7 separate regions of the Homo sapiens genome follow, and all the other regions are linked to region 3. Evidence: promoter capture Hi-C in 16 types of primary human blood cells and fetal thymus (Javierre and others, 2016). All regions are on one chromosome and are shown on one strand. Each heading gives the region's core, a stretch centred on a gene start or on the middle of the fragment in contact. The rest is flanking DNA. Distances are from core to core; before and after follow the strand shown. Region 1 overlaps DGKD (diacylglycerol kinase delta). Region 2 overlaps DGKD (diacylglycerol kinase delta). Region 3 holds the start of KCNJ13 (potassium inwardly rectifying channel subfamily J member 13). Region 4 overlaps DGKD (diacylglycerol kinase delta). Region 5 overlaps ATG16L1 (autophagy related 16 like 1). Region 6 overlaps USP40 (ubiquitin specific peptidase 40). Region 7 overlaps USP40 (ubiquitin specific peptidase 40).

Region 1 (3,687 bases), core at 329-2,828, 610 kb before region 3:
TTCAACCAGAGACACAGGTGTTTAAACTACACAACAGTACACGCTACTAACTTTGAAGGTGTGAAATTTGTGGGAAAGTAAATTACAGATGTGGACTCAAAAAGTGAAAAGGTTCAAAAAATGATCAAAATGCAAGAAATAAATATTTTAGGATTTATTTCTATTACAGCCTTATCTCCCTAAAAAGTCTTCTTGACAAATAATTTAAAATAAATTCTCTCGAACTTAAGAAACAACCAATCCCAAAGCTACATAAAATGTTGCAGAAAACATAAACTCATAGAAAGTTACTAAATGAATTTTATGGGGTTGGTTTAACTCTGAAATCAAAACACAGTATGTCCAACTATTATGTATCCATTAAAATTAAAAACAGAAAAAACAATTGTTTAAAACTGCAATAAGGCTACATTCTCACCCAAAACAAATGCATACATACCAGTGGGAAAATTCTAAATTGCAAGATAAAGGAGTAAAATTCAACATTACCAAGAATAATTTTTTTATTAGGAAATATGCAAATAACTGAAACCAAAATGAACATCTAAATTAATGCCCAGGGCCAGGCACAGTGGCTCATGCCTGTAATCCCAGTACTTTGGAAGGTTCAGGCGGGTAGATCACTCCAGGCCAGGAGTTTGAGACCAGCCTGGCCAATATGGTGAAACCCCATCTCTACTAAAATTACGAAGATTATCTGGGCATAACGGTGCACGACTATAATCCCAGCTACTAGGGAGGCTGAGGCATGAGGATCCCTTGAACCTGGGAGACGGAGGTTGCAGTGAGCCGAGATCACACCACCGCACTTCAGCCTGGGTGACAAAGGGAGACAACATCTCAAAAAAATTCATTAATTAATCAACTGATGCTCAGAACACTCCAAAGAAATTCAACACCTACTCCTATTAAAGACTCTAAAAACCACGAATCAAAGAAAAATCTATTTATGTGGTTAAAAATGTCTCTTCCCAGCTGGTAAAAATAAATTAATAGAGAAAACTACAAATACTCCAAGTAAAATAAGAGCAGTTAATCAACACAAAATAAGCAGAGGTTTAGACAGAGAAAGGAAAATCCCATTTGTATTGGCAACATCAACAATGAATCCATCAATAAATAAAATAAAACAAAACTTGAAAGCACCTGAAACTAGCACTAACCCAAAATATCAGATCCTAAACTTGAGGAAAATTACTCACCTTGACTGAATTATAAAAGAATAATTTTTTTAATTAGGGTACACACTTTTTGTCTACATGGGATGGCCTAATAACATAAAGAAAAACAGCTTTAAAAGTTCTAGTGCTGTTATTAGAGTCAAACCTTACACAGGCAGGCGCTAAAGTCAGCCCGTAAAGCCTAAATTATAAAATCCTACAAGAAAATGCTACTATAGCCATTAAATAATATCATGAACATTTAGATCAGCTGACATGAGCAACTCTCTACTATAAATTGTCCTGGGGGGGGAAAAAAACACAGGTGTAAACCAAAAGGTTCAGCATGATCTCATGGGTACATGTAGGTAAAGACATAAATATACAGAAATAAAGATAAACACTGTAGAGTAAGCAGCTGGCCACTTCCAAGTGGTGAGATCACATGATTCTGTGCATTTAGAACTTTTGCAGAAAGTCCTACATAACTTTTATAAATTTGGAAGGAAGAAAGTTTAAACATAAAAAAGGAAAAAAAAAAGAAATACACCAAAATATTAACATTCAATGTTTTTTGAGGTGGCTGTTATGGCTGCTTTTTAATTGCTTTAACATACTTGTCTGCATTTTCCAAATTTTCTACATTAATCACAAAAAACAAAACTCTGTACAGAGGTAGTAAGATGTGAACCAGCAAAGCGTGGTGGCTCACACCTGTAATCCCAGGATTTTGGGAGGCCAAGGAGGGTGGATCACCTGAGGTTGGGAGTTCGAGACCACCCTGACCAACACGGAGAAACCCTGTCTCTACTAAAAATACAAAATTAGCCAGGTGTGGTGGCACATGCCTGTAATCCCAGCTACTCGGGAGGCTGAGGCAGGAGAATCGCTTGAACTCGGGAGGCGGAAGTTGCTGTGAGCTGGAGATCACGCCATTGCACTCCAGCCTGGGCAACAAGAGCCAAACTCCGTCTCAAAAAAAACAAAACAGACGTGAACCAAAACACATATAAAAATTTTTCATTTGGTCCCTATTGTCCTTTTGTGCTTATGCATGCCAAATTCTTGGTTATTCTCCAACCACAGTATTACTTTCAGCATTAAATTCAAATTTTACCAGCAATCATTCCAATCAGTAAGAAAAGAATGAAAACGTTTGAACTGCTTGGACACATGTTCAGATCAAAAAGGAAAGCCAACTTCAGTGAAGAATCAAGAAAGGCATGACTGAGGAATCTTACCGTAAAACTGTTGTTGACGTTTTTGGTACTGGATTCAGCTACGCTGGCATCTGTCAGATCCACCTCATCAAATATGATTGACTAGAAAGAGACAAACACAGGGACTAAGGCACATAAAGACAGGTACATCCCTAAGCACTAGCCAGCGCTGCCCACCACACCCCAATGATCCCTAACAAGCACCCACAGAAGCCCCAGTACCTTGAAACTGTAGCATCCAATCAATAAGCCAATCCAAATTAACCCACCCACCTGCTTCTAACCAAAAGCTCGGGCTCACAGGTATAGTGCCATGATTTTTTTAAAAAAATCTACAAACATTGTCATTGCATTAGTGAAGGAAGAAAGAGAGAGAACCAAAGCAAACAACCCAATGCTGGTATTTCTGTATTTACTACTGTCAATACCAGTATTCACTTTTACATGTGAAGTATGTTCTCACACAGTGTTTTAGCTGAGGGAAGGCCGGGGTCTGGACTGAGGATTCCGTGTCCTCCTGGCTTGTTCCTCCAGCGAGCACATGGAGGGGGAAGGTCCTGGCTAAAACAAATTCTTCTGGAGAAGAGAGACAGGTCCAAATGGAAAGGGTCTGGCCGTGAAAGGAAACAAGGGAGTAGAGCAGAAGGATCCTGGTCCTGGAGAGAAAGATGCTCCAGGGCAGGGCTGGGAGTCAGGCCTGGGGACCTCCCCCGTCTCCCTCTCCACTCCCTACAGGGTCCCCCGGCACAGCCCCTGCCTCCTGTTTCCCTTATACCATCCCCTCTATTCTACGATGGCTCTATGAGGAACCCTGGAGAAAATCAAACTAATAACTCAGAAAAGAAACTCAATCTTTTAAGTAACCTTTCCCCTCCCCGCACCACCAGAACTAACTGTAAAAGGTTATTTTGTCGTGTTTTTTTTTTTTTTTAATTGAGGGAAGTGGTCAGAACCCTTTCTAAACAAGCTGCTTTGTTCCATTTCAAATTTTAATGCAGTAACTTTCTAGGGATATGTCTCAAAATGTAAATTATTCAGACTCCAGATTTCTTAAATACCAAAATATTAGTACTGACACCAATCCTGATAAAAAACACAGGTATTCAGAATCCCAGCCAACACACTGGTGTCTGAATGTCTAACACCACATCCGCTTAAACATGGCAGTAATCTGTGACTTTCACTGGCTGCTCCTCCTCCAGCAGCACCCACCTGGTGCTTCTAGCTTTAAATCTACCTACAATAGGGCACACAGAAACAAGGTTAATTGCTAGAAAGCCTAAAAATAAAGAATTTCCCATTTCTGT
Region 2 (3,797 bases), core at 73-2,572, 680 kb before region 3:
ACACTATGGGGATGCCAACGAGATCACAACTAGAAAGAGACAAATAGGACTTTTTTTTTTTTTTAACATTAGGGGAAGGAGATGGTCCTAGAAATTACTGCCCTATTAGCTTAATCATTGTGTCTTAAAAAAAAAAAAAATCCTAGAACAAAACACAAAAAGCTCCAGCTCTTAACAGTGCACACAAGAGCCCACAGGTGAGCCCTGTACCCCACCCAGGTACCGCGGGCAGCCGCTCTTACCCTGTCTCTGGTCAGTGTCTGTGCCCGGTTCTTGTGGACAATCCGAATGTACCCTGGCGGCTGGACCCAGGCCTCTCCGTCCACCTGCACAGGCACGCCCTCATCCCCAAGGATGGAGATCTTCACCGTGCGACACTGAGCAGACATCATAGCCATTACTCATGCTGAGCCAAAACCCCCAGGGGTTTAAAAGTGCTATCAGCACCACCATGACCTTCCTGCTCCACACACCCGTCCCTGCCTTGCAGGACACCCCACCTCTGCCTCTGGGATGGCGCTCCGCCTGCAGCTAGCCTTCTGCTGTTGTGTCACTCAACCGAGGGTCTGTTCTCCCACTGTCCCGCCCCATCCCGCCCCATCCCCTCACTGAGCAGTCAGTGCAGGAGACCTTGGTGCTGAGACAACAGGTGTCAGAACCCAGGGGCAGGGGTGTTGTAGCTCCCAGAAGCCACTGGGCCCCTGCCACGTGAAAACACCCCTAGAAAAGAGCAGATGGCACAGTGGATGACGATGAGCCATCCATCATCATCCCGTTCCTCCTTTTCAACAACAAACATTGCCAAAGAGTGAAAATTGTGAACTTCAAGCAGCCTACAGCTAAGGGTAGACAGAGTGCTGGAAGACACCAGACAGTCGCAGGGTGGGGTTCAGCCAGTGGGTGTCATCAGCACCCTCCCCCGCCCCAGTGCCTGTGCCTGGGTACAGAGTCCTGCCCCATCCTCACAGAAAGACTGCCCTCAGCCCATCGCTGCTGTCAGAAATAAGCCATGGGGGCACCCCCAGCCCTTCACCACTCGGCCTCAGAACCATGATCGAGGGCCCCAGCTGGAAATCCTCCCACACCCCACATCAGAGCCATGGGCTCCGTCCCCACTGCGGCTTTGACAGCTGCAGACACGGGCAGAGTCCAGCCTGGGTCTGCTCTATCTCATCCCACCTCAGAGGGGACAGGCAAGGCTGTGGTTCAAGCAGGATACACATTTTGAAAGAGTTATCTTGGCCGGGTGCAGTGGCTCACACCTGTAATCCCAACACTTTGGGAGGCCAAGGTGGGTGGATCATTTGAGGTCAGGAGTTCGAGACCAGCCTGGCCAACATGGTGAAGTACAAAAATTAGCTGGGAATGGTGGTGGGCACTTGTAGTCCCAGCTACTCGGAAGGCTGAGGCGGGAGAATCACTTGAACCAGGGAGGTGGAGGTTGCAGCAAGCCGAGATTGCACCACTGCACTCCAGCCTGGGCAACAGAGCAAGACTCTGTCTCAAAAAAAAAAAAAAAAATTAAAAAGAGTTATCTTGAGAATTTAACTGTCAAGCATAGCACAAGGAAAGGGCTCTGGCCCAGGAAGTGGGGCCACGAGCTGTCCAGGACAGGACATGAGGCAGCCACATGGCCCTGGAAAGCGCCCACCCTCCCAGGCTCCATGCACTGCCCCAGAATTTAGCACACTCCGGGCTGGGGACTCGGCCAGACACCCCAGGACCATGGCCACTACCTGGGCGATCCGATGATGCTGTAGCCTGATGACTCGAGAGACGGCCATCTGCATGCTGCCGAACACGGCGACCACCTCCAGAATCTTGTCATCGAATGATGGAGCTGCGAAAGTCTGCAAGGGACACGTTAGAGCTGACCACCACTCCACACATCCCCGAGCACAGGCCGCCCCTACCCTCACTCCCTCCCTCTGGGGGTCAGCCCCTCCTAGCTGGCGAGAAGTTACCAGGTAACTGCACTCCTGACGGGCTTCATGTTGCAGGCCCTGAAACCAGCTGCCTGGGACCAAATCCCAGCTCTCATCTCGGCAAAGTTACTGAATCTCTCTCTCCCCCATTTCCTCATGCGTAAAATGGGGAAACTAACGGCACGCTCCTCCAGGGCCATCAGTAGGGCCAAGTGAGTTAACGCTGCAGAGTGCCAGGACTGGGGCCAGCACACACCACGTGTGCAGGAAGCGCTGAATACTTCTATTCGCTATTACGTACAAAGGAAGGTTTAAACCAGGTTTAAACCTATCAACACCTTCCCACAGTTCTTAACACAAATTCCAAACTTCTTCCCCAGCTCACACAGCCCAGTGTGACCCAGGCCCTGCAGCCCTCTCCTGTCTCTCCACGCCCCTGCTGCCCACTGCAGTCGGGGCACCTCTCTCCCATCCTCCATGTGCCTGCCCTGTCTTGACTCTGAGCCTTCATCTGTGCAATTCTCTCTGCCTGGAACAGCCTCCCCCTCTCCTCTGCCCACCTAACTTAGCCAACTCCAACTCATCCTTCAGGTCTTGGCCTCCCAGACACCTTCCCTGACCCTCCTTCCACGTCACACCCGCTGACCACATCTGCTGACCACAGACCCTCACTGACCACCTTCACTGACACAACTGCTCTGCTCAGCCCTCTAGACGATGAGCTGGGTGGGGGACCCTGTCTATCTTGTTCTCCACGGCAACCCCACTGCTGGCACAACAGAAGAGCTGGATCCACCCCAGCCACAGCAGAACACCCCCCTGCTCTCAGACAGCTCTTCCCCACTGAGCTCAGGCCCACCCGCTCACACCCCATACATACATCATCTTCCTTGGTACCCCCCCAGAAGTTGGTTCCTCCGGCATAGCTGGGAATGTTAAGGACAGCAATTCCCTGAAGACTGGGGAGTGGGATGGGTCGCCCGTCACACTGAGCAGCAGAGACACAGAACAAAAGAAAAGAGAAAGGTATGAGTCAGCCCCTCCTTCTCTACCAGCTTCCCACCGCCAGGGGCTCAGGAGCACAGCCGTGGCCAGGGCATCCCCAGGCAAGTCCCTGTGCATGGAGGAAATGGTCAACAGGAGAAGCAATAGGCCTGGCAGTCTGCTGATGGATGGAGGCCAGCCTGCAGGTGACAAGGACCCTCCCACTCACCTCCAGCAAGACCTTTTGCTCCAGGTTCTTGTAGGTTCTGTGCAGCAACTCTTTGGTTCCAAGAACTCCATACCACATCATGTTCTTGGTTCGGCTCCTAGAAACAGAAGCAAAGACTTGCCATAGGTCTGGGCTTTCTTCGTATAGTTAACCAGAGTCATTTCTGTGAAAGCTGGGAACAGCATCTGACCCACAAATCAGCTACATTTAGCAATTATTTACAGCAGTAACATCTGAAGGACACATTTTTGTTTTTGCAGATATGCATAAAAAGATACGTTTACCAATAGGAAATTTTGCTCAATAGTAACATTTTGCCAAGAAAGTAATCATACCCTGAAAGGTAAATACATAAAGTTAAAACATTATAGAACCCTATAAAAAAACTTCTACACATCCTGATTTTTTCTGGCTAAAAAATTATGCTTACCATAGAAAAACTGGAAAATATAGAAAAGCACCAAGGAGAAGACACTCCTCATAATCCTCCATGCATAATCCAGCACCTGTAGGCACCCTCCACACGTGCTAATGACAAATGCCAAGTGCTGCTATGTATTTCCTCAGTCTTCTTTGCATATTAATTTCCAGTTGCAGTAACTTGTTTACAGTTTCACGACCTACTTGGTCCACTTTACCCTGCGCCGGCAATGCTTCCT
Region 3 (3,468 bases), core at 482-2,981:
AAAGACTTTTAAGTTTAATAAAATCCTTAACTGTCTTGCCTACTATAATATGTATTCTCAGGCCAGGTGAAGTGGCTCATGCCTGTAATCCCAGGAATTTGGGAGGCTGAATTGAGAGGACAGCTTGAGCCCAGGAGTTCAAGACCAGCCTAGACAACACAGCAAGACCCTGCCTCTACAAAAAATAAAAAATTAGCCAGATGTGGTGGCATTACTGCAGGGGGTGGGGGATGAGGTGGGAGGATCACTTGAGCCTGGGAGGTCGAGGCTGCAGTGAGCTGTGATCACACCACTGCACTCCAGCCTGGGTGACACAGCAAGACTCTATGTCTAAAAAAAATGAAAATAAAAAATATACAATGTATATTCAAAACACATGACAGATACACTCAAGTGCTTCTGCTTTCTAGAAGCAGTATTATACTATACTTGTTCTAGTATTTTGTTGTTGTGTTGTTCTGTTTTTCTGCAATTTGTTAGCTGGGAATTGATACACATTATAATTCCTACCAGTACATGCAGGGAATGAGCATCACACCACAAATCCTTCTTTATACTTTACCTTCCCTAGTTCTGAAGGTCAGTGTTTCTAATGCTGTGTCTGAACTTGTGTTGAAGTATTTGGTACTAATAAAACAAAGAAGGAATTAATATATTTTTTAAATTGTGGGGCGGGGGGGGGACGGAGAGGATTCTACAAAGGCGGATTTCACTTTCTAAGTAGCATTATATTGGTCTACATTAATAATTTTCCCAGCAGGCCTTCCAAGATTTTACTTTGAACAATCACAGTCTTTGTTTCTCAGATCCTCTTACATGTGACATTTGGTCAAAGTTTTAAAATCAGCAGCTAACGGAGGAGGAGAAAAGTACTGTTCACTAAGGCACTGCACAAAGCCATACCACAGCACGTTTCAGGGTTCCAACAAGCTGGATCACATTTTCCAGCTAAACACTATTTCAATGTTGTGTTACATTTTCTGTACACTGTACACTATGTTTTATTAACACTATACTTCATCACACTGATCAGGAAAACATCTTCTAAACATCATTAAAATAAGCCTTAAGAAAATTCTTCGGTTCTTTCCCACAGGTGTGCATTTTTTAAAGTATCAGGTACAGAACAATTAATTTTATTCCTATTCAAGGTCTTTGTATACAGCCTTTAAAAAAAAAAAGTTTGTTTCCTAACCAAAAAAATAAAAGATTTCACGTAATTATCTATATTACTAGTTCTGGAACTAATGGTAGCCATTCTGATGAGACATGAGAAGAAAACTAAGAAAATCAATGCATTAATTTATGCCTATAAGTCCTTATCCAAATAAATCTTCCCCAAAGACATGGTGGAAAAAAAAAAAGATTAGTAAAGGAAATATCTCACACTTCAACATGCTATATAAGGAAAGACGGCTGAAAAATCTTGCAGGGAATTTTATCCCTTTGAACTTTCAAAAAAACTCTTAAGTAAGATTATGCAAACTTACTAAAGACCGGTCCTGATTAGAGGGAAAAAATGCACCCCTTCTCCAAGTCAGTTCTGGAGGCTTTCTCCAGAGTTGTTAAGGTTTGTGTTGGGTAAAGAAAGACCTCCTAACAAACCAGCATTCTTTTCCACATGATCAGAGCTAATTGGCCCCCCTGCAGGCTAAGTGACCAATCACATCAACCTCAGCTGAAACCAGCCCCCACAACATTATAAACAGAGGAATGTAAGCTGTAAAACCAGTCCAAGAAGAGAACCTACAAACTAGACTTGTAGATTAAAATTATCTGATCAAAAAGGCAGACTCTGTAAATTTCCTTAAGACCTACCTTGGCATAAAGGCTGACCCAGCAAAAGAACTGGTGAGTACATGCAATAATATCCATTCTTCTTTCCTTATGGGAAACAGGGAAAGAAACTGACTGGCAAATAGCAACAGAGCTAGATTACTTCCAACAGATTTTTAAAACAAAGACATTATCTATAGTGTAGGATAGTAAGGTTTCTATATTCTTTTCCCTTAAATCTTAAAAATGCAATAACAGCCATATTGAATGTATTACTGGAAATTTTCTTAACTGTTTTATTAAATGTATACTAATTTTCTATTACAATATATCAGTAGAGGATAAAGGCCTTAGGAAAAAAAATTCAGTGGCTTGAGGAAAAAAAAAGTCTTTTTCTTTTGGAAGGAATTTCAAAAACCCAAAATGAGCATAAAAAAACAAATGCCAAAAGAATAAGCCACTTTGTTTTTACTTCTGTAATCTAAGAAGAAAGTGATGAGTATCCTAATCGTAAATTTTTAAGCATGGAATTATTGCGGAAATTAATAGATACTTCTGCAACTGAGAAATTAAAATAGAATCTCTGAGCTTATATAACAGGGTTAGAACTCAATAGTGTTTGCCCTAATTGTGGAGGGCAGGAGAAATCATTATAAGACTTTCAATATAGTCTTAAAGTATTTACACCAGACATGAACAAATACATAGTAATGCCATCTTCATTTAATGTTTGTTAGTTATAGCCTTTATCTTAACTCCTCAGTATGAACTATACTATTTTTTATCATGGCAACAGAAAATACATACTTTTAAGTGCTACAACCCAATGAGTAGAATGAATTCTGATGATCAGTGAAGCTGCCTATCATTTTTTAATAGGTACTATTTTTCCTCCAAATAATTTATAAATGGGCAAATATTTTACAGCCCACACACAGCAATAGAAGCAAACCTTCCCAACCTTCCACCTCACTTTCTATTGGGATCAGCTGATGAGACTTAAATATCAGGTAACAATAGTATAATTTTTTAAACCATACGAGCAGACATCAAACTATACAGAAATAAAAGAAATCATATAGGAAACTTGTATCCTTTGTAGGAAGTGGAAATATGTTTGTTTACATAAGTCTGTAGAGCTTTAAGAAATCTTATTATCATAATTCCCTCTTTTTTCACTTTCTTTGTTTTAATCTAAGGATGCCAGGCCAATGGGATTGAGTGGTTTGCCCAAAATGACACAGCTATGTAACCAACAGTGCTAGAGCCTGAAGGCCATATCCCCTTATCCTGCGTTCTCTACACTAAACCACACTGACTATAAGAGTCCACAGAATAGTTATTCAGGGTAATTGGTTAAGTGGGAATCAGAAATCAATCTTCCTTCTCTATATTACTCCACTTGCCAACACAATCCAAACCAAATCCAGCAGTCTTAGGTTAAAAAAAAAAAAATGCTGCTTAACTGTTCCGATTATCAGCCTTTTGACTTCCCTGTTCACAGGTTTTTCCATGTATTTAGTTGCAAGAGAAAAAAAATACAATTGTAAAGAGCCTAGAGTAAGAGTGCTACAAAAGTTGTAGGTAAGAAGTAACAACAGTCCTGAAAAAGCCCAAATGAGAATGATGAATTTTGTTAGCTACAGTCTATACAGAAAGGCTCTAAGTAAGGAATTTTAGAACTTTCATAAA
Region 4 (3,661 bases), core at 188-2,687, 660 kb before region 3:
ACTATCTACACAATTTTTAAAACTCCAAGAAAGATATATTTTACAAGCTTCCTACCCGAGGTGTGGGCCTCCGTTCATGAGGTCGAAGACCTGGGCGGGGTTTAGTAGCTGTTTGAATCTTCTGAGGAACTTCACACCCTGGTTGTCCCCACTTTTTGAATTGACGAAGACCAACAGTGGGCTTGTGCAAGAAGGAGGACAGCTGGCCTTCCAGAACCCTGGACGCAAGAACGAACAGAAGAAAATATATAGGCCACGGAAGACGCTGAGGGCACCACTGATGGAATCAGCAGCAGCAGACCCCCCCAAAGGACACACACCTGACACATGCACACCTGTAAGTCAGGAGGAGGTCAGTGAACAGTTCCCCACAGCCGGTCTCCATGTGTGAGGCCGGGAGCCCCATCCATCTGACCTCCACATTCACAAGCTGTCCAAATGCCACCTTTCTGCTGTCTTCTCTTCTTGATCTCCTCTGAGCCATGTACCCCACATCCCCCTTTCCACCAGTACTTGTCAACAGGTGCCACCATGTCCCAGCCAGACATGAGAGCAGCTGCAAGCCAGTGTGCCAGCATGTGCTAGGCAGAGATGGGGCACAGCTTCAATGGCTCATGACGGAGAAGGCCCCAGACCTGGGTTGCACTCAACAGCATCACCTCCACGTCAAGTGCCAGGCTCGGGTCTCAGGCCTGTCTAAGCCTGGGTGCCACTCAACAGCATCACCTCCACGTCAAGTGCCAGGCTTGGGTCTCTGGCCCATCTAAGGGCAATGCCGCAGCATCAGGGCGCCGTGTGCCGCTCTGTGCAACTCCTCCAGCACCCCCAACAGCTGTGCCTGACCTCTTGCTGACATCTCACCAAGATAACCAACTCCAGAGCTGGAGAAGAGAAAGTGCGTGGAGAAGGAAGCGTGTGGGCGTGCATGAGAAGGATAAGCATGTGTGGTACCCACCATCGGAGTCGATGCTGTTGAGAGCCGTGGGTGGGATGACTGACACTTTGCACAGGCCAAGTGGGCACTTGGTCAGCAAGGATTCTTTACACGATGTGTGAACCTGAAACAAGAGTCCCCGCGTCACCAAGGGTCACTGGCATCCTTCACACACACCAGAAATCCTCCTGCCCTGTAGCTGATGAGCTGGCCTCGGGGGAGGCAGGTGATTTCAGAGCTGGGCTGGCCTGCTACCATCAGGGGCCCTGGGCCGGCCTGCTATCATCGGGGGCCCTGGGCCCTGGCTTTGCACTTGAGAAGGCATAACACGGAAATACCCGGCAGGAGCCAGTCATGCTTCACACCGTGTGAGCTACAGTCCTGTACCCAACCTTCTGGCCCTTCGACCACAGCTACCTCAAACTTTCAGGACGAGGGTGAGGGCTCCTGGGGCCATGTGCCTCTATGTGTCCCCTGTGTCTTGGCTTCCTCCTGGCAGCCAGATGTGCTAGGCAAGTGACTGCAGCAGCCACTTCACAATGACCAACCCAGAAGCAAGTACATGGAGGCTCCCTGAGTCTCTCCCTGGAAGCACATCTCACCACCCAGAGCAACGATGAGACCCAGGACCTGGCAGGAGGCCACTGGGCTGCACCCCTTCCACATGGCTGTGCTCACTGTCAACACTGCCCAGAGCCAACGCCGCTCCAAATGGCCTCTACAGCTTTCCTGCTTCCACACCACAGAGGCGGCCAGCTCAATTGTCCCAGGTGACCCCTCACAACCCGGCTACAGTGCCGCATGATGCAGGGTGACATCTGTCATAACAATACACATCTGCATATGTCTAAAGACAGGAATAAATGCAAAAGGAAGAAATACCCCAAAACATAGCTAAGAAGGAGAATGACCCAACAGTTCAAAAACCCACTCTCAGCCGGAGGGGCCTCTGGGATTAATTTACCAGGATCCAGCAGATCATGCGGAGCCGCAAGGCCCGCATGGGCACGGTAGGGAGCAAGCCCTCCCCTCCAGCCCGGGCGCAGGGCCCACACTCACCATGGCCTTGCACCAGAGGCAGCGCCAGTCCTGCAGGCGCAGCACACTGCCACAGGTCTTGTCGCACACAGTGCACTTGGCGCTCACAGGTAGGTTTCCTTCCAACCACTGGTGGGGCATTGCAATCTGCAACCAAACAGAGGCACGCACTAGGGACGCTCCCAAGGTTCCACGTCCAGGGCAGCCAGGAAATGCTCGTTGTGAACTCAGCCAAGGCATTCTTCCCAGAACAAGCTCCTTCCCTGATGGCCAGTGAGGGAAGGGATGGCAGGGCCTGTGAAGTACCATCTACCCATAGCACCTGTCGGAGGTGCAAACAAGACTCACAGGGACAGGATGGAGCTCGGGGGTGCGACAACCACACGGAGACCGCATATAATTTCCACTGTGCCACCCAATGCCAGTGTGACCATCTCAAATGAAACAGTGGCAGGGAGGGCAGGGAGGAGGCTTGCATGGGGCCGTGCAGGTGGGGGACCCTGGCTCAGGGCCCCACAGGTGGTATTTCTTAACATACCCCATCTGCATCTTCAATGATGTCCTTCCCGATCGAGGCCAGTGTGGTCCACTTGCAGTTATTGGTTGCACGCACAGCACAGCGCTTGTGGGCCTTAAATTTGCACACTGTGAGAGAAGGGGCACATGAGCCTACAAGCTGTGTCTGTGCCAAGAGCTTCCCATGCTGAGCAGTGTTGTGAGAACCGTCCAGCTCCAGAAAAGTCAAGGAAGGAACCAATGGCACTCCCATTTTATAAGTGAACTACTGTGATACGCTTAGAGGCTGATGGCGGTGGGACCGGCAGCGGCAGGGAAAGCTGGGGATCAGTAAGCTTTCTGTAACAGGCCAGAGAGTGAGCAGTGGAGACTCTGCAGGTCGCAACCAGCTTCCGTCACCACTAATCAACTCTGTCATGTAGCACAAAAGCAGCCAGAGACAATGTTTTTTTACGGGCACAAATTTGAATTTCATGTAATTTTCATGTGTCACAAAATATGATTCTTCTTTTGATTTTTTCCAATCATTTAAAAATTTAAAAGCCAGTCTGAAGCGTGGGAGCTGTACAAAAACAGGCAGAGGCAGGGTGTGGTCCAGGCTATAGCTAACAAGCCCTGCTCTAGCCCACTGCTTTGCCACCAGACTGAATGCCCTTGCCCAAACCCTGCAGCCCTGACCTCTAAGTCTGTAACACACTTTCAGTCCATATATGCACAGCCCCGTTTCCCCGGCTGCAGAGTGTGAGACACAGGGGCCGACCACTGTTCCTTCAGTGCCTTTCCCTCTGTGTGCTCTAGATTTCCCATTTCTCCTTTTGCCACCCACCACTTCCCTTTTCACTCTGAGCACTATAAAAAATGATTTATCAAGGACTCTTCGGCAGGTAAAATAAACAAGAATGGCATCACAGAAATCGCTGTGCCCTTGACTGACCACATGGGTGACAACGGCTTATTTATGGTGACTGGGTTTGGATTTCCAAGGCTTTATCAAGTAAAATGCCAGGCCACCTTTCCTGACAGAATAACAAACGCACATCCGTACCCTCGCAGGACAGCCCGTGCGACGTGACCCCAGACAGAGCCTCACGGCACACATTGCAGTAGGTCGGCCTCGCGTGGGAACAGGCGTACCAATTGTGCATCCCTGAGAAGTGGTCCATGCTGTACTGG
Region 5 (3,789 bases), core at 49-2,548, 520 kb before region 3:
CACAGCGCCGACTGAGGTCTAAACCGGATGACCCCTGAGATGAAGTCAAAGGCCTTGCTCACAACGCAACGGGGGGCTGAGACAGGGTTCATCTTACCTGTGCTGCTTTGAAAGAACCTTTTCCACTTTCCCTGTGAGCACACTCCAGATATACAGAGAGCCCTCAGCAGAGCCTGCCGCCACGTAACTGCCATCAGGGCTACAGAAGACAGTAAGAAAAGAAAGGTTGTCAATTCCCCACCCCCAATTCAGCATCTCTGTGGCCTTTTTCCCAAGAAGGAATGTTTGTTCTTCACTGATGACCACTCCTGTGTACCCAGACCTCAGAATGTGTGCTAGTCATGGCCCTTCCAGCCAAATCTGCTTTTCCCCAGTATTTCAGCCCCGTCCGGCTAATGAACAGTGGCATCACATTGCTTCTTGGGGCTCCAAGTCCTTAACCATCTACAGACTTCAACAAAACAACATATAGGGAGATCAAAGCCAACCTCCACATAGCTAAGGGTTTCAGCCCATGGACTGCCTTGTTACATGCCTCAAAGAGAGGAGGGAAGAAAAGAAACATCTTAGCAACTGAGCCTGGAAAGGTATTTGGAAGAAGCAGGATACATGGAAGAAGGGAACAAGGAGCAGAAAACTGCAGACCACCTGCACACCCTTCTCCAAAAAGCCTTTTCAGTCCCGCCCCAGGCCCACGGCCACTCCTGCCCTTTTCTAAAGGCTCTCCAACAGCTCTTGCGTGAATGAGTGATGAGAAGTGAACCTAATGGGCTCACCCACAACAAAGCAACCAGCCAACTGTTATTTTTTGGTACAACACGTTAGGTTCATGTAATCACAAAAGGAACACTGGAAAGGAAGAGACAATAATGGTGGCCTGCAATTATGAACTTACAGGCACACTCCTGGAAACATAGGTTGGGCACTGAACAAAATTTAGCTCTATATCCCCAGTGGGAAAATGCCCATGCAGGACTCTTTGTGATGAACCAAATTGGCGGGGGGTGGGTCACTACTAACCTGAAGACAACTCTGGTCCAGTCAGAGCCGCACTTGAACCCAGGTGCACTGAAACAAACAACAGGGCACTGTCACTGAGGGAGCTCAGGCCACGCAGCACGTTAAGAGAGCAGGGCTGGGCCTCTGGTCTTCATGCAACCAGCACATCTTCAGTTACCTGAATGTCTGCTTGATAGCATTTGTTCGGAGATCAATAACTTTTAGCAAGTCATCACGGGAGCAGCTCAGGAGCTCAGTCCTTTCTGGGTTTAAGTCCAGGGCAGTAATCTTTCCCAACAGCTCCATCTCTCGAACTATGCTCTCTGATCTAAGAGGGAGAACAGATCTGAGAAATGTAACGTAGGCCAGAACTACTTCACATCATGCCGTGGAGGAAAAAAAAGGCACTGCAATTCAACTAGCATGCAACGCTCTGCCAGCGCAGTCAATGTGTTCCCAGTCTTCTAATAACCTGTGACTGCTTTTCTTACTTTCCCATCAACAGACCCTAAGACAGTCATTCCCAGACTAGAACTCTGAAGTTGGTAAGAATTTCCTCATCCATTTTTGGAATGACAACAATCGCCCATCGGTTTCTGATCAGCATGAGCTAACTAGGGCTACTACCCAATTCGTATTATTTTCAGTGATGTGATTTCAACTTTTGGATAAAGTTGGCAAAGAAACCTGCATTAGTGGGCCTGGGCTGCCTTGTAAGTGTAACTCTAGCCTCTTGCAGGTTTTCTGCCCTATTCACTGTGGCTCTGTGGCCCTCCACCTCCAGATATGGGGCCAGGAAAGCCAGGGCAGAGCCACGGCCCTACGCACCTCCCTCTTCTTCTCTGTGCTGTGGCCCATGTCCAGGGTGGCTAACAGCCACCCTGGGCAGGGCCCTGTTGGTGACATTCATAGCCAAAGGGGGTGCTGACCTGTTCTGTGATGATTTTGTTGTAGGCTTTCAATGAAACCTTTTCCTACCTCCCACCTTAACTAAGCAAGAATTTATCTTATTGTTGCTAAATATGCAGCTTGAAGCAAGCTACTCCACTTCCTTGGGACTCAGGGTCTTCACCTGTCAAATTATGGGATGGACTAAGAGACTTCGAACATCCAACTTAACTCTCAAATTCCATCTTTCAAGTTCCAATTTCAGGTTTTAAAAGCAAACTAAAGATTATGAATAAAATGTGAAGTGGTGTCCAGGAACCATGAGCATTGTCAGGACTTTCTGGTGCCATGCTGTGTTTCAAAGCATCATCTATCACCACAGGCCCTGTACCCCCACCCTCTCTACAACCCTGCTGGGAGGCTGTCCTCATTTACTCTCCATCCTGTCTTCCCCTTCCTCCAACCTGTCAATAAGCCCTGTCCAAATTCTCCTTCAAATAGATTCTCTCCTCCACATGTTCCTCTACTGACTTGAACTTAGGTCCTTATCAACTCTATTGGTTTCCTATTCCCTAATATGCCCTCTCAAAATGCCACCAAAGTCGTCTACTAGACTCCTGCAAAGCAACCATTTCCTTGCTAAACACCCAACGACTTACAAGATCGAGTGATTTGACAATGGCTTATCAAGCCTGTGGCAACCTGATTTCAACCCCTCATAGCCCCCTCACTGGCTTCTGCCCTGTTTCCTGCTCACTTGCCATGTATCAGCCACCAGACACACACTCAAAAGTTTGAGTGGCTTTCCTGCCGTGTGAATCCTACTCACGTCTCCGGAGAAATCTGGAGAGGCATTCTTTAACACACTGGAACAAACGTAGCTGCCTCCACTTCAACACACTAGTCACTGACTTTTGCGTTCTGCCTTCCCTACTACAGTTTAAATTACCTAAAGGTAGAAAGAGTATCCTGTTTGCCTTTTCTTACCTGCCAGCTGGTGAAGGGCCTAGCACTCACTGCATGCTCAATAAATGATTGCTAAGCTCCACAGTCTACTTCATGGGAAAGAACAGCCAAGTGTTAATAAGCTAACACTATACGTGTACCGAAACTCATTTCTGCCATGTCCTGAGATCTTAAAAGCACAACCCATGTACAGAACCATTACTGTGGAGACTCTTATGTGCCTCCAGTCAGGAGCTTGGGTATCATACCGAATGTCCCAGAAACGAATTTTCTTGTCAAAATGTCCACTCATTACACATTGCTCTGTGCAGACAATATCATTGCAACTGGATCCTGCAAACACTGTCTTTATGCCTGAAAGAAATGCAAACATCATTAATCAAGCAGAGGCACCAACGTGGCTGTTTACATAATGCTGCCACCCTCTAACCACTGACTTGTCAGAGTTACTCACTTAAATGAAGCTTTAAACAAGAAAAACTATCACTATCCTCAGTGCCCCTCTAAACATGAAGCCAGATCTGAAATTCAAACTATATTACATAAATGCAGGCTCTGACGTGCAAACACACACCTCCACGCTAACATCTAAGCATATACACAGACAGAGAGACTGAATTTCCTCACAGACTTTGCTGCGTAGATCCCAGAGTTTGAGAGTCCGGTCGTGACTTCCTGAGACAATCCGCGCATTGTCCAGCAGGAACTTAGCAGACAGCACTTTCCCACTGTGTCCCGTGAGTGTGTGCTAGGAGAGAGAACACAGCCAGGGTGAGCCTCAGGGCGCCAGGCCCTGCCTATGCTGGCAAAGTATCCACAGCATCCTTACCTCCAGAGTCAGAGTGTCAGACCACCCTGAGATCCGGCCAGGAACACTCAAAGCGATAAGACAGCAAAGGAAAAAGAAACAGGTCAGGCACAGTGACTCACGCCTGC
Region 6 (3,414 bases), core at 32-2,531, 720 kb before region 3:
TTCTAAACAATCTATAATTATATTTTAAAGCCTTATTTTTTGTCATACAAGTAATCATGGATTTCTTCTCACTTTTTAAACTTCTAGGGGATTAACAATCCCCCTTGGTTACCACTCTATTCTAGTCCTTTCTCTAGAAGTCACTGTTGCAATCAGATAACATCATCTTATCCACATCAGCAGAGTATGTGTCCCTCCAGACCTTTGCTGTGCCTATACCAGCATGTGTCTATATACATACATATAGAAATGAAGAGTGTGCTTTGCTTCTGTGATTTCTTTTAAATTATAAATGGGATCACTTTGCATGTATTATACTAGAACTTTGTTTCACTTAAAATATTTTAAAGATCTTTTAAGACCAATATATATGAATCTGTTTTTTTCTTTGAACTGCTTTAAGACATTTCCTACTTTTTAAAAAATCTCCCATTAATGTGTATTTTGGTGGGGTTTTTTTTGCCATTTTTCTTTTATTACAAACAGTACAGCAGTGACTTCCTTATTTTTGCTCTCTTTTGCTCTAGTGTAATAGAAATCAAATTGTATTTGCTCGCTTGTCCAAGATTTAATTAGCAATGTTTTTCCCTCAAGAAATTGTTTTAATTACTATTTTTGTTTTATTTAAACTTTTGTTAATATTGTCTCATTTTTGCATTATGCCATGACATCACAGCTTGCACAATTCTTGTGAGTTTTTATATTTAGGGAAAACGGGGAAATTCAGACAGTCATAAAGAGAAGAGAGAAGGGAGAACTTTCCCCAAATGCTATCAATCTCGCCTTTTATAGGATTCAGAGTTTAATGTCTATGAAATTAACTTGATTAATCATATCTGGCCAAAGACACACAGTTAATCCTTACAGGAAGAAAGTCATGGTTCAAACCTGGGAGTTGGTGGATGAAACTTTGAACTAAGTCCTGCTTGCAAACACCAGAAACTGCTTTTTCCTCTTCCTGAATTGGCCCCATCTAGCCTTTAGAAAGGAAAGCTGACTCGTGTATTATCTTCTTAACTATGTCTATCCTTGCCTATTCAAGAATCATTAAATATAGTCAGACTTAAATAGGCCTAGGGTCCAAAAAGGGTGTTTGTCCTAGAACTGTAACTCAGAAACAGAAAACTAACATTGGACATTGTTTTTCTTTACAGTGTTTAAAGTTAATGCTGAAGAAATCTGGCCTACAAGGTAAGTTACTTACCATGATGACATATTACTTAAAAGCCTAATAAAAATTTTTTTGACTTTTTTTTTCTCCAGGGTTGTAGGAAAAAAAAATTTATAGGGTGTGGAGAAATAAAAAGTAGTTTACACTTCCATATGTACATAATGAATTCTCCTGGTTCTTGTTGGCATGCTGAAAGAAAACTAATGGTATAGCTCTGAGTAGAGAATTTAGATAGGATCCAGCAAAGGTACAAAGTAGGAATGTTTTACAGTGTTGGTGGGAATGTAAATTAGGTCAACCATTGTGGAAGACAGTGTGGCAACTCCTCAAAGACCTAGAACCAGAAATGCCATTGATCCAGCAATCCCATTACTGGGTATATACCCAAAGGAATATAAAGTATTCTATTATAAAGATACATGCACATGTATGTTCATTGCAGCACTGTTCACAATAGCAAAGACATGGAATCAACCCAAATGCCCATCAGTAATAGACTGGATAAAGAAAATATGGTACATATATACCATGGAATACTGTGCAGCCATAGAAAGGAATGAGATCATGTCCTTTGCAGGGTCATGGATGGAGCTGGAAGTCATTATCCTCAGCAAACTAATGCAGGAACAGAAAACTAGACACCACATGTTCTTACTTATAAGTGGGAGCCAAACAATGAGAACACATGGACACAGGGAGGGGAATAACACACATTGGGGCCTGTTGGTGTATGGGGGGGTGGGAGTGGGGGAGGGAGAGCATCAGGAAAAATTGCTAATACATTCTGGGCTTAATACCTAGGTGATGAGTTGATAGGTGCAGCAAACCACCATGGCACACGTTTACCTGTGTAACAGGCCTGCACATCCTGCACATGTACCCCAGAACTTAAAATAAAAAGAACGCTAAGATGTATACCACCTGGAGCCACGCAGGTCTTCCACTGATTCCTTTCAATTTTATTGATTCCAAATTTCAGTGCATTCTGTTTCATGTCAGTATTTTTGTGGTATAGATGACGGAATGTAAAATGAATGAAAAAAATAAATCTAAGATAACTGAAGCAACTTTCCAGGTGAGATCATGTCAGTGAGCTTGATGAGACCTCATTCTGATTTCAGTAGCACACTTTGCTGTTCTCAGACTTCATTAACATGGAGGCCCATAGCTTTATTATCTGGAAAGGAAGTTAAGGTGCTCTGGGTGCAAGACATTCTTCTAGAAGTTACACGCAACGTCTCACCTAACTTTGAATTTTTTTTATCCCAATTTTGACTCCTTTATAGGAGATGCCTGGCATTTACGAAAAATGGATTGGTGCTATGAAGCTGGAGAGCCTTTATGTGAAGAAGTAAGATGATTTCTATACATTGTACTTTCGTATGATTACATTTATGTCATATTTTCGTACAAGGTACCCATTCCACTCATGAGAAAGCTTTAATTACTTTCTATAGGATACAAATATCTATGAATGGGTCTATTTTACTTTTTTCTTACTATAGTTTTTTGATAAAGGGGAAGTCACAGTGCAGTGGGAACATTTCTGACATCTGTGGTAAACCCCCTTGCCATGAGAGTATGCCTCTAGGAGGAGCAGTTCATGAGAAGGCAGAGAACTTCACAGAACAAATGACATTTGAGCTCATGAAGGAATTTTATAGATACACTCTGAAGTTTTGGCCCCTGAATGTTTTGATCTCAGAGTTTCTCTGTAAGGTAATGGTGGCAGAATTTCTTACTAACCATTCCTAAGTTAGGCTTTGGTCCAAACTCTCGATCCAGCCAAACTGTTAGGGTAGCCTTAGGAATAATTTTATCACAGGAGAGTTGGAATCTAGTTGGTCATCTTGTTGGTCCAAATAGCATGATATTTCCCAGTTCAAATGCGTAGCCTTAGAAGAAGACCCAAAATAAAGCTCTGTGGGGAGTCTGAGGGAGCTGTGGTCAGCCGCCCTTTCCCCAGTCTTCACCTGCCTACTTCCTGTTCTTTAAGAAGGGGCACTGAATGCCAGCAGAAGGTTGATTTAGGGAGGTATGCTGGGGCCTTGCCCTGGAATGCTCTTTGCTGTTTAGCAGTCAGTAAGTCAATAGCAAGAGGCCCCTCTTGGGGCCTGGGCAGGAGTTTGACTGCCTGGAGTAAGAAGTGGACCTCAAAGCATCTTTAGGACATAAAATTTGGATGTCAGAAGAATATATTTACCCAAATAGCTTCAGCATTTTCTTCTCTATTAATTCCCAAA
Region 7 (3,724 bases), core at 942-3,441, 760 kb before region 3:
AGTCTTGAGCTAAGAACATGCCTTACATTTTTAAATGGTTACTTTTTAAAAGGTGAAGTGAGTACTAAGTAATGTTCTCAGTTTTGCTTCTAAAATATTTACCATCTGGCTCTTTAAGAAAAAGTTTGCTATCTCTTTCTAATTTGGTAGGACTTGAACTCCTTGTTCTTTCTTCTTGGCATCAGGCAGCCCTGCTCAGATATTGAACCTCCTAACTGATACTCTCTGCTGGGCTCTTTGAGCTGTCCATTCTACCATTTAGGAGTTAGCCAAGGATTTAGGGGGATTTGTTACAGAATTGGGGCTCCTTCGTGGGATCTCGCCTCTCTGGTATTCTCAGATTCTGTCCCCTCATCCCAGTAAGACTCTTGCCTTTTCTTGAAATCTGTTCCATCATGCACTGCTACAAACTGGGTAGTAGGTAGGTGAGTGCAGAACTCACCTGGTTTGCTTCCCTTCTTTGAAGTATTATATCTTCACTTTATGCCTACTTTGGGTTCCTTTCCCAACAGTTGTTTTCCTTTTTTGCCTAGAGTTTATCATTTTTATTAGGAAGATTAGTCTAAGAAAATTTCTTTGTCATTAATGGGACTAGACTGCACTGATGTTTGAGGCTTAAAAGAGTTAATTCTCAACTATCAAACAAAGAAAAACGTGGCTATATAGAAAGTTCATTACTTAAAAACCCAAAGAACAAAAAATGAAAAGAAAGTTCATTACTCAAAGCTTTCAAGTTGTTGATACTTTTTTGTACCTTAAACAAACTAGCTGCAAGGCTGTTTTACCCTCTGTTCTCATACACAATGTTAACAATGTTGTCTTTGGGTTATGCCCTACACTCTTCTGTTTGTTGATAAAATAATACTTTTGATTCTCAGAGAGTTGACATTACCACAAATTACTTTCTTTCCAAGAGAAAAATTAGCAAATCACCTTTCCAGGGTGATTGATGAAGTACCCAAGTGTCAAATTTAACTCCCAAGTAATTTTCTATATAAAGTAAATTAGGCTGAGAGAAAAGAAAGAGACTCAAGGCCAGACAGAGGTTAAAGAGTGAGAGGATAGGGGCGTAGTGGATGGGGAGGTAGAGACAGGCAATGGAGAAAGAAATTTTTTTCTTCTTAATCCTTTAGCAAGAACTTTGGGATTGTGACTTAACCCTTACTATGCTTTGATTTTCTGAGCTTGTCTGCCAGCTTTTAGAACAGACAACATTCACTTTAGTCCAGGTTAAAAGATAATTTAGGTTGATAATTACTACCTTATCCCAACAGAGTCTGTCTGGGTTTTCAAATTATCTTTTATGGTGGTACACTGTGTGATTGCCTTTGTTTTGTGCCTTGTTTAGATTGCTTTTAAATATTTCAAAAGTGTTTGTTCTACCTAATCTGTTCCAGTTAAATACTTTTTTAAACAGCACTAGTGAGGTGTAATCAAAATGCTTTTTAGATTGTGGCATAGCGACCTCCTCCCTGGATGTCACTATCAGACTATTTAACAGAGCACTGTGGTTTTATTAAATGTTTTATGATACCTAGATGGATTTTCCCCCGTAGCTGGCCAGGTCAGAAATAAAGATGAAGTTAAATGATCTAATCACAGAAAGGAAGAAAACATTTTTTAATCACATCTAATTTTTGTTTAAATAATTAACTTAGCATTTTTTTTTTTGTTTCTGTGTAGTTCTTACAGCTCCATTCTCAGATATTTCTACTCAGTTCAGATGAAAGTACAGTTCGTCTCTTGAAGAATAGTTCTCTCCAGGCTGAGTCTGATTTCCAAAGGAATGACCAGCAAATTTTCAAGATGCTTCCTCCAGAATCCCCAGGTTTAAACAATAGCATCTCCTGTCCCCACTGGTTTGATATAAATGATTCTAAAGTCCAGCCAATCAGGGAAAAGGATATTGAACAGCAATTTCAGGGTAAAGAAAGTGCCTACATGTTGTTTTATCGGAAATCCCAGTTGCAGAGACCCCCTGAAGGTATGGAAAGAAAAATGTTCCTATTTGTTTCAGTTAATGGCTTTAGAAGATAAACATGGAATGCTGTTTGAATTTTTATTCTTTTAAAAAAAGGTTTACTCTTGGAACATTTTTAAATATTTTAAAGCTAACAAGAACTATATTATGCCAAATGAAATCTAACAATTTGTCATTTTATAAAGATTATATACTTCTCTTTAATTTTCTACCCTGTAATAATGTAAGATCATCATTACATTTTCAAAATTGGATTTCCTTGGATAGCATAAAACCTTCTTGTGTTGGCAAACTTGAGTGCGATTGCCATATGCTCAGACTTGGCTCTGTCATTCAGCCATATGTTGCCTTTGAATTTTAAGTGGCCCTGGTCTTATTTTTATATCTTCTCCTTTATTTTCCTGATTCTTTTATATCTTCTCCTTTATTTTCTGCTTATTTATATCTTTTATTTCTATTATTTATCCTTTATTTATATCTTTTCATATCTTCTCCTTTATTTTCCTGTTTCTCAATAAGACTTTTTGTTTATTTATTCATTTATTTATTTTTAGAGATGCAGCCTCACTCTCTCGTCCAGGCTGGAGTGCAGTGGCATGATTGTTCACTGCAGCCTCTAATTCCTGGGCTCAAGTGATTCTCTTCCCTTAGTAGCTAGGCCTACAAGTACATGCTGCCACACCTGGCTAATTTTTTCATTTTTTTAGAGACAGGGTCTCGCTGTATTGCCCAGGTTGGTCTTGAACTCCTGGCCTCAGATGATGCTCACACCTCAGCCTCCCAAAATGCTGGTGTCATCGGTAGAGGGTCATGAGTGCAAGTTGTCCAGGTTCTTGGCATTTCGAACAAAGAATTAGACAAAACGCCCAGCAAAGCAAAGAATGAAGCAACAAAAGACCAAAAGCAGAGATGTATGGAAAACAAAAGTACACTCCACAGTGTGGAAGCAGCCTGAGCAGCAGCTCAAGGGCCCAGATACAGAATCTTCTCCGGTCCAAATATCCCCTAGAAGTTTCCCATTGGCCACTTCATGCTCACCTCATGTAAATGAATTGGGAGCCCGCCATCAGTCTGATTGGTTGCAGAAAGCAGCCAACCAGAGGCTGAAGTGAAGTTACAAAGGTCACTATCATGTGCAAACATCTGATTGGTTGCAGAAAGCAACCAATCAGAGGCTAGGTTGAAGTTACAACGTTACACTTATTTGCAAACGAAGACATAGCTGGCAATCAGTCTGATTGGCTGCAGGCAACACCCATTCAGAGGCTGGAGTGAAGTTGCAAAGATGCAAACGAAGACCCTACCAGCAATCAGTCTGATTTGTTGCTCAGTCTTATTTGTTGCCAACAGCAACCATTCAGAGGCTGAAATGGTTACAGAGTTGCAAACGAAGACTCCACCCACTGTCTGATTCGTTGGGGTCAGCCAATTTCCTATGTGTGCGCAGAAAAGGTCAAAGGAAGTAGCCTCTGGTCCTTGTGTTACTTAGGAATGGAAAGTTAGGGTGTTCCTTTCAATTTAGTTCTAGGAAGTCGGTGTGAAACAGCCTTAGGTTCCCTGTCTCCAGACCCTATTCTCCTGCCTCACTGGGATTACAGGCATGAGGCCTAGTAAGATTTTTCGATCACTTCTCAAAGTCCGCTCAAAAGTTAAAAACCCCAGTGAGAAAAGCTTTATAGATTGAGACATATCTATTATTAGAGATGAGAATATTGTTCTTAGAGAATGAGAATAACCATCATT

Evidence for each region. Contacts are between HindIII fragments. The CHiCAGO score rates a contact against its expected background, and 5 or more counts as called.
Region 1: a fragment that was not itself captured here is called in contact with the fragment with the promoter of KCNJ13 in region 3 in 4 of 17 cell types (monocytes, naive CD4 T cells, naive CD8 T cells and 1 more); the score reaches 6.0 in monocytes.
Region 2: a fragment that was not itself captured here is called in contact with the fragment with the promoter of KCNJ13 in region 3 in 1 of 17 cell types (naive CD4 T cells); the score reaches 5.7 in naive CD4 T cells.
Region 4: a fragment that was not itself captured here is called in contact with the fragment with the promoter of KCNJ13 in region 3 in 1 of 17 cell types (monocytes); the score reaches 6.5 in monocytes.
Region 5: a fragment that was not itself captured here is called in contact with the fragment with the promoter of KCNJ13 in region 3 in 8 of 17 cell types (M2 macrophages, M1 macrophages, M0 macrophages and 5 more); the score reaches 15.6 in M2 macrophages.
Region 6: a fragment that was not itself captured here is called in contact with the fragment with the promoter of KCNJ13 in region 3 in 4 of 17 cell types (M2 macrophages, non-activated CD4 T cells, M0 macrophages and 1 more); the score reaches 6.6 in M2 macrophages.
Region 7: a fragment that was not itself captured here is called in contact with the fragment with the promoter of KCNJ13 in region 3 in 1 of 17 cell types (M2 macrophages); the score reaches 6.0 in M2 macrophages.

What each region holds. Positions count from the first base shown.
Region 1 is chr2:233,389,198-233,392,884 of GRCh38, reverse strand. DGKD (diacylglycerol kinase delta) reads right to left here. Exons shown (of 30, transcript NM_152879.3): 3 at 2,402-2,482. Among named protein-coding and RNA genes, the nearest start is that of DGKD, 37 kb to the right of the region's middle. The HindIII fragment of the contact is 5,698 bases long and covers 1-3,687 here.
Region 2 is chr2:233,456,337-233,460,133 of GRCh38, reverse strand. It overlaps DGKD (diacylglycerol kinase delta), which reads right to left. Exons shown (of 30, transcript NM_152879.3): 20 at 3,139-3,235; 21 at 2,806-2,913; 22 at 1,737-1,850; 23 at 243-377. Among named protein-coding and RNA genes, the nearest start is that of DGKD, 100 kb to the right of the region's middle. The HindIII fragment of the contact is 6,733 bases long and covers 1-3,797 here.
Region 3 is chr2:232,774,828-232,778,295 of GRCh38, reverse strand. It overlaps KCNJ13 (potassium inwardly rectifying channel subfamily J member 13), which reads left to right and starts at 1,731. Exons shown (of 3, transcript NM_002242.4): 1 at 1,731-1,851. All of the region lies in intron 8 of GIGYF2 (GRB10 interacting GYF protein 2), which reads right to left. The HindIII fragment of the contact is 5,243 bases long and covers 1-3,468 here.
Region 4 is chr2:233,434,774-233,438,434 of GRCh38, reverse strand. It overlaps DGKD (diacylglycerol kinase delta), which reads right to left. Exons shown (of 30, transcript NM_152879.3): 5 at 3,534-3,661; 6 at 2,511-2,617; 7 at 1,994-2,119; 8 at 956-1,058; 9 at 56-218. Among named protein-coding and RNA genes, the nearest start is that of DGKD, 82 kb to the right of the region's middle. The HindIII fragment of the contact is 2,776 bases long and covers 50-2,825 here.
Region 5 is chr2:233,289,666-233,293,454 of GRCh38, reverse strand. ATG16L1 (autophagy related 16 like 1) reads right to left here. Exons shown (of 18, transcript NM_030803.7): 13 at 3,481-3,601; 14 at 3,102-3,207; 15 at 1,178-1,327; 16 at 1,021-1,068; 17 at 98-199. Among named protein-coding and RNA genes, the nearest start is that of SAG, 16 kb to the left of the region's middle. The HindIII fragment of the contact is 4,043 bases long and covers 1-3,319 here.
Region 6 is chr2:233,497,656-233,501,069 of GRCh38, reverse strand. USP40 (ubiquitin specific peptidase 40) reads left to right here. Exons shown (of 32, transcript NM_001365479.2): 22 at 1,155-1,191; 23 at 2,458-2,522. Among named protein-coding and RNA genes, the nearest start is that of USP40, 67 kb to the left of the region's middle. The HindIII fragment of the contact is 2,661 bases long and covers 1-2,611 here.
Region 7 is chr2:233,531,739-233,535,462 of GRCh38, reverse strand. USP40 (ubiquitin specific peptidase 40) reads left to right here. Exons shown (of 32, transcript NM_001365479.2): 11 at 1,684-1,984. Among named protein-coding and RNA genes, the nearest start is that of USP40, 33 kb to the left of the region's middle. The HindIII fragment of the contact is 2,926 bases long and covers 729-3,654 here.